Linked DNA regions of Homo sapiens: region 2 is linked to region 1. The links are contacts of gene promoters, found by promoter capture Hi-C in blood cells and fetal thymus (Javierre and others, 2016). All regions are on one chromosome and are shown on one strand. Each heading gives the region's core, a stretch centred on a gene start or on the middle of the fragment in contact. The rest is flanking DNA. Distances are from core to core; before and after follow the strand shown.

What was found. The method cuts DNA at HindIII sites, captures the fragments that hold promoters and counts their contacts. A CHiCAGO score of 5 or more calls a contact.
Region 2: a fragment that was not itself captured here is called in contact with the fragment with the promoter of GNL3L in region 1 in 1 of 17 cell types (monocytes); the score reaches 5.2 in monocytes.

What each region holds. Positions count from the first base shown.
Region 1 is chrX:54,528,445-54,531,890 of GRCh38, forward strand. It overlaps GNL3L (G protein nucleolar 3 like), which reads left to right and starts at 1,775. Exons shown (of 16, transcript NM_001184819.2): 1 at 1,775-1,975. RefSeq lists enhancers at 1,176-1,696, 1,351-1,400, 1,851-1,910, 1,921-2,180. The HindIII fragment of the contact is 4,164 bases long and covers 499-3,446 here.
Region 2 is chrX:56,787,118-56,790,755 of GRCh38, forward strand. All of the region lies in intron 2 of NBDY (negative regulator of P-body association), which reads left to right. Among named protein-coding and RNA genes, the nearest start is that of NBDY, 60 kb to the left of the region's middle. The HindIII fragment of the contact is 4,764 bases long and covers 1-3,638 here.

The DNA.
Region 1 (3,446 bases), core at 525-3,024:
TTGAGCAAGTGTATAAGAATTTCTCTAGGAGTTAAAGTTTAGAGGTGATCTCTATCTATCTATCTACCTATTAATCAATCATCTCCAATACTAGAACTGCTGGGTCCCAGGGTCATCTTCAGCTATTCTGGATACTTCCTAATTGTTTTCCAAAGTCGTAATAACTAGTTTCCACAAGATTTCATTGTATTTTTTCCCTTATATCTTGTGCATTTGGGATTTTGTTTAAAAAGTCCTTCCCCAGTCACAAGTCACAAAGATATTCTCCTGCATATATTAACTTCATAGTTTTACCTTTCACATTCACAGTCTACCCTCTTAGGTGGAATAAATAGAGATCCAGTTTTATATTTCTTTTCATGGAGAGCCAAATTTCCCAATGCCATCTACTAAACAGCCCATTTCCCATTTTTTGTGGTGCAGGCCTGTAAACTCACCCATTTAACAAACAGTTGTTGAAGCCTGCCTCATACCAGTCTTGTGCTGGGTGTTGTTGAAAGCTTGAAGATACATGGCCCCTGCTCTCAGGGAGTTCACCCTCCTGTGGAGACACAGTCACATAAACAACTACAGTATTGTGATAAGTGCTAGCTTAGCTGTATAGGTAAGGTGCTCTGGGTTTCTAACTCATCTGCGAAAGTCAGAGAAGGTTTCATCGAAGTGACAAGAGTTAGGTCTTAGAGAAACAGAGCAAAATTGCAAATGCAGGGGGAAAGGTGAAAGTGGTCAGGGCTGGTTTCAGGTCCAGAGGAATTTCATGTGTCTCTAGGATGAGAGGTTAGAAGCCCTCCAACGATGTAGAGAGGTAGTGAGTCCTGTTTATGTAAGGGATAAAGGGACAGATGGAGTCATTTTCAGCCCGTCTGTGCTTGAAGTGGAGAAACAAACCCACCCTCGGAGGCACAGAGTTCCACCTACTCTGTGCCCCACCCCAGGGTTTAGGCTTGAGGAAGAGGAGGGGCTGGAATTAAACCATCAAGAAGAAAACATTTGCAGACTAATATTTACTATTTTGTGGGGGAGACCTCACTTCCCAGCCAGCTCCTTGAGATGGCTTCAGAAACCCCTACTTGCCCCACTCCAGAGATATAAATTCATTCCCTTCTGCAGACGCTGCTCCGGGATTGAGGGAAGGATGGAGTAGGAGGGGAAGAAGGCAAAAGGGTGGGAGAGGCTTCTAGTGTGGGAGAGGCTTCTAGTCGTTCTGGCTCCTGCTCCAGCTCGGGTTGGGTATGGCCATAGATCTGAACGTATGCAGAAAAAGCTAGGAGTGCTCAGGGATGGTCTGGGGCTCAAGGACCCGGGAAGGTGGTTGGGAATAGCTAACCAATTCACTTCAGGTGGGGAAATACTCGGCCAGACACGTGACCCAGGCGGCCATTTTCTCACACCCTGCTGTCGCCATCTTCCAGGCAGACAAAGACACCATCCCCCACCCTTGTCTGATTCGGGCGTGGTGACTGCCTGGTTATTGAGATTTGGGAGCACGCATATTTAACCCCAGACAGATGCCCGCAGACAAAATTTTGGCTTGCAAGTAAGGTATATGGCCGCACCAGTCGACCCGCCGCTTCTTCCCGGTCATTTCCCCGTCCTCCTTCTCCCTCCTCCGCTATTTCCTTAACTACGGGGCAGGCAGGAGGCGGGGCCAGCGTGGTCGCGAAGAAGGGACGGGCGGGCGTGAGCTGTCAGTCAGAAGCTCCGCCCCCCCCCCCCCCCCCCCGCGGAGACCGCACGGTGGGCGGAGTCGGGCGCCGCCGGCCTGGGATCCGGAAGTCGGAGCCTAGCTGCGCGAGAGTTTCTGCTCGCTCAACCGAGTTGTCGTGTTGCCCTCGCTTCTCAGATCCCCGCCGGAAGTGTAAGTAAGAAACTTCTCTCCTCTTTTCTCACAATGTGCGCTCACCTAGACGGCCGGGCAGTTAGGATCGTCTATTGGATGTGAAACCAGAGATGCCCGCCAACCTGGAATAGAGAGGTAAACAGCAGGATCCCTTCCAGGGTAGAAGGGACCGGAAGAGGGGCAGGGATCGCGGCACACGTGGAGACGCGCCGAATTGCCTTTTCGCGGAGTGGAGTTTGCCGGGAGAGGGGCATTGCCCCATCCCACCTAGAAAGGTGTAGACCCGGGACACACTGTGTAGAGAGGCACAAACTTCACTTGTGTGGTGAAGCGTTGATCGTCCTCAAGATAGTGAGGCTTCATTCTGCATTCACCTTGTATAGACAGGAGTCGACCCACCAAAGGCATGGGGGACATCCACCCCAACCGTGTAGAGACATCTCCCTCCACCCAGCTGAGCAGCGCAGACTTCTCCCGACTTAAGGCACTTCCTTGGCTTGGCTCTAGACAGCCGTCTCGAGGCACCTCCTCAGGACAGACAGAGGCTTTGATGTATCTGCCCCCATACCAGCATAGAGGAGCTTAGAAACATTTAATATACAGAGGGAGGGCACCTCCTCCCCATACGCGTAGACTCAGAGCCCTCAGTATCGCTCCCCAACTCACCCGTCCCCAAAGTGGTTGCAGTTACAGGCCTCAGCTTATGGACAACTAAGCCAATTGCCCCCTCCTCTTAGGTTAGAGTGAGTCCCCATTGTGGAGAATCAGACCTGATCCCTACTTCCGTAGCCCCCGTTTTACCGAATGTGTAATTTTTCGAAGCACCCAACATGCTTCGAAGCAAACAGGAACAGACCTTAATCCATGAAGAGACAGTCAGGTCTGCCCCTTGAGGGGCCGTGGGGGTAGAGGGGCTCAGATGTGTTCCTCTCCCTTTGAGGTAGACACAGATCATCCCCCTACCTCCCCCTACCTCCCCCAAAGATTTAGAATCACTAAATGTAGCAAGGGAGATACCCCACAGGAGCAGATATGCAGGTCTCCCTCCCTGTAATGTTGAGAGGGAGTGACATCGCTGATTACCTGGCAGTTCAGTGCGTATGGTCTCTCCCCTTTACCCAAGGTAGTGGAGCTCAGATCTGTTTCTCTCCACCCAGGGTAGAATCACAGACGCCCCCACCCCCAAGTATTAGGGCTGATCTATTAATTTATAGCTGCATTGCCAGCCCCCTCCACACACCACCCATGCAGAGAACCAGAGCCCCTATTTCTTTCAGTGTTAGTGTGCCGCTGACTTCAACCAGCATAAAAGATGAAAGTTGTCACAGTCCACCTTCCATAGAAGGGTCCAGAATAGCTCACTGCAGGTAAGGTGCAGACCCGCTTATTCAAAGCTGCATAGTTGTGGAATCAGGCATATCGATCCTGTACCACAGCCCTCTCCAGGGTGAAGAGACGCAGGACCCATCCCCACAATCTAGAGATAAACAGATCTGTGATTCTTTCCCCATGCAGCAGAGATGCACACAGCCACTTTGTGGGTTTCCCCAGTTTCTCTGCACCCCAGAGTAGAGGGACAGATGGCAATCCCCCCAACCCAAATCAC
Region 2 (3,638 bases), core at 852-3,351, 2.3 Mb after region 1:
CAGGGTGTCTCTGCACGTCCATTTGCTGACTCTCACTAACAAAGGTAGGCACCCACAGACCACAGACACAGACACAATGCACGCACTCACAAGGGAACATGAACCAGAAATGAAATCACAAACACACATGCACACAGACACATGCACACACAGACACAAACACACACGTTAAACAAGCCCAAGCAGACACACGCACACACACACACAAACACACAGAAGTAAGCTCACACTAGCAAAGGGGCGTGGGCTTAAGCATTGTTGTACACAGACACACACCACCACAGGCCTGAAGCTACCCACAATCTCTTCCACATGGGCTCTAAATGTGCAAAGGGGAACGGGGGACAAACAAGCATTCCTGGCTGCAGGTGTGGGTCATCATGCCATTTATTGGGCAACTAAGGCCTTCTTCTGAACATAAATGCAGGAAGTCTGTTATCAGATAGGCCCAAGCAGCAGGTGTGAAACTGGAGCATCCTGGGTCAAGCTGCTTAAAAAGGGACCCCACTTTGGGGTAGGGGTAGATAAAGTCCCCTTGGGATCCTTGTCCTTGTGTGATGCCATGAGAATCTGGTGTGTGGTGGCCTTCCCCAGCCAACCTGTGCCACCCTCCTCTCACCCTTGCCTGTGTGAAAGCAGAGTCAGACTTGAGTGAGGTGTTGAGTGTCCCCTGTGAGGAGACTCTGGCCTCAGGCCCTGTAGCTGCCTGTTGAGTGGGTGGCCCCAGTGGCCCATTCTGGTGACCTCCATTTATGATCCCAAGTTGGCAAACTCTACCTGCAGTTCCAGGCCTTGGGAAGTCTCCTAGTCTGGGGGCAAATCCTTGTATAAGACAGCCGAGTGGCCAGCGCCTCGTCCTGGAGCTGCAGCCCTATGATCCCAGTCCTCCTGTGGTTTCCCAGAGGCCATGATAATGTGTTCTTTGTCTTTTACTTTCTGCACCTGCGGGAGCCATGAAACCTAGAGAGGACCAAAGGAAGGGCAAAGGCTGGCTGCCTCCATAGCATTCCCGCAGGGTCTCCAGGCTACTGGTCCTTGGTGCTAGAGTCCCCTGAGTTTGGTTGTCAGCCTGGGACCAGGTGGCTTGTTCCTTTCTCTTCTCCTTATCTTTTTTATTTTTTTCTCCTTCCTCTTTATTCACATGGGAGAAGGCAGAGACCATCAGCTTAGAGAAGCAAGGTTATGGTTGTAGTTGGCATTTGTGGAGCCATACTGCCATCAAGTGGAAACTGTTTCTGGAAATGGGAGGGAGCTGGGCACAAGTGCTGGGGAAAGCCCAGGGGCACAAAACAGATGGTGGCATGGGGCCCCCAGACTGAAGCAGGATGAGAGAGGAGCTCCTCACTGGCCCTTGGCCTGGGCTCATTCCCAGGATGGTGCCCTGGCTCCACAGCTGCATGTAAGAAAGGGCAGTTGGGGCAGCCCACCATGGCTTCCCCTGGCAGTTTCCAGGAACTGCCGGGCATGAGTCGCCCCACACTCAGCACCCCGTAGCTCCTTTTTTTTTTTTTTTACCAGGAAGATAGGGGCCTTCTGGCCTTACTGTGGCCCCAGCCAAGGAGGGCAAGCTGTAACTGCCCACAGAAGAAACCAGAGTAAACCACTTCATTCTCTGGCTGTCAGTGGCCAGTGGCTTCCCTTATGCGTATCTCAAAATGGCTGGGGGGCAGCTTCACTGTGTGGACTGACTCGTCTTGGGGCTGCCTGGCTGCCCTGTGTCAGGGCCTCTAGAGTAACTGCTTCTCCAAGGGGTCCCAGTGGCAGGCACTCTTTGTTCTAGGGCTCTAAACCCCAGTTGGGGAAACCCTGGCTTAAGCAGAGTCCACCCAGCCCCGCACATTTTCACTGATCTCTGTGCCTGGCAGAAGGCGAGTGTCCCTGCAGCCTGTTGTCATGTTCAGAAACATCTTCCTCTGGGTGGCACTGTGGCTCCGCAAATGGCAGTCACGTCTTTTCCTTCCCCCACCTTGCCTTGTCTTTCTCCATTTGCTGCCAACGGAATAAAACAAATGCCAAAAACAAAAAGCAAAGAAACAACGAAGAAACTGGCCAAGGATCACCCACCTCACCTACAGCAGGGATCCCCACCTACGTGGTCACTTTGGGGGAACCTGCAACAGTAGGAGGTTCTTTGCCTCCCTCCTTCCCTCTGGATTCTTCTCTGGGCAGGGTACCCAGTGAACCAGAGGAGTCTGTTCTCATGAAATCCCACCCTTAGGGCTGTGTCATGGTGGGGGTAGGTTGTACTGGGGGCAGTATGATGGGGTACAGGAGAGGGATGTGTGAGTGTGTGGGCCTGCATGCAGGCCACTGCAGATTCCTCTAGGAATTGGCCCAGGTCCCCAAAGCAAGAGACCAGGCCTCATGATGGCATGCACCACACTTGTCCCTAGGTAGCACTCTTCCTCTTGGGGAAGGGACAAAATCTTGGATGGAAAGCAGCCAGGTCCAACAGGCATCCACACATTGTTGAGCCATGGAGCAGCAGGGAGTTGGGTCGGATGTTTGTTGAGATGGGACTGCATGGGACTGACTCCTGTTCGAGGCCTTCAGCTACCTCTCTCTCTGGAGCCCAGGCACTCATAGGGGTCCAGGGGTTGGAGGGATTTTCCAGGTTTTTTCACAGGTGGCTCTCCTGGAGAGAGAGCCACTTGTCATGTCTTACTGAGCGTGCATGCTCACTGGAACGTGGTGGTTCACCAGTTATTTGCCTTGGCATCTTGGTCATTCTTCCCATGTGCATGGGTAGCCAGAGCCCAGACAGTGCTTGCCTTCTCCTGGGCCCTATCTTTGTTCCTGTTCTGCGTGTCGAAATGGAGGTTGAGCCTGGAGTGTGTTGGTGGGGGGTGTGGTGGAGTGTCTGTGCCTTTGTTTGATACAGAGCTCTCTGAGGTCCTCAAGCTAAACTCTGGTGCTTGCCGGATATTCATCCAGAAAAATGAATGAGACAGTCGAGGACAAATTATGCTGCCCCTTTAGGGTCTCCAGGAAGACATAAGAAAGCCTCACTTGGGCCATCATACAGAGCCCATTTTGGGATGCGAAGCCATGACCGCGTTGCTCTAAAGGTTACATATGCTACCCATGCTGCTTGATGCCTGGGCAGCAGTATGGAACACACAGCTCTTCGAATATTGCAAATGTTTTCTTTCTTTGCTTGTTACAAATCTTCCTGGATGTGTAGACCACACTGTGAACAAGCAGAGCTTCATAGGACAGAAAATTCACCCCATGGGTATTGATTCCCACACTCAGGGGTGTGTGAACCACTCTCACATCACAAGAGCAGTGTCAATCTCGTGTGTGGGCCTCTACTCTCAGGGCATTCTGGGAAGAAGACCCACATGACTATGGAACAGGAGTCACCCCCTTTTGGTCACTTGTCAACAAATGCAGATTCTTTTCTCATAAGTAGGTAGCATGCACCACGGGGCACCTCCGGCCCTGCCTAGGTACAATGGGAGAAGAAAAGAATGCAGGAAGATCTGACTGCGTCTTTAGGAGTGACATGGCAACTCTGAGTTTCAGAGGTCCTCGTTTTTAACTTTTAACTCCCATTACGTCTCAACATTTTCCTGTCTTCATCTGTGCTTCCAAAGGTCCTCAGATACATACACATCTCACCATGCATACTAACA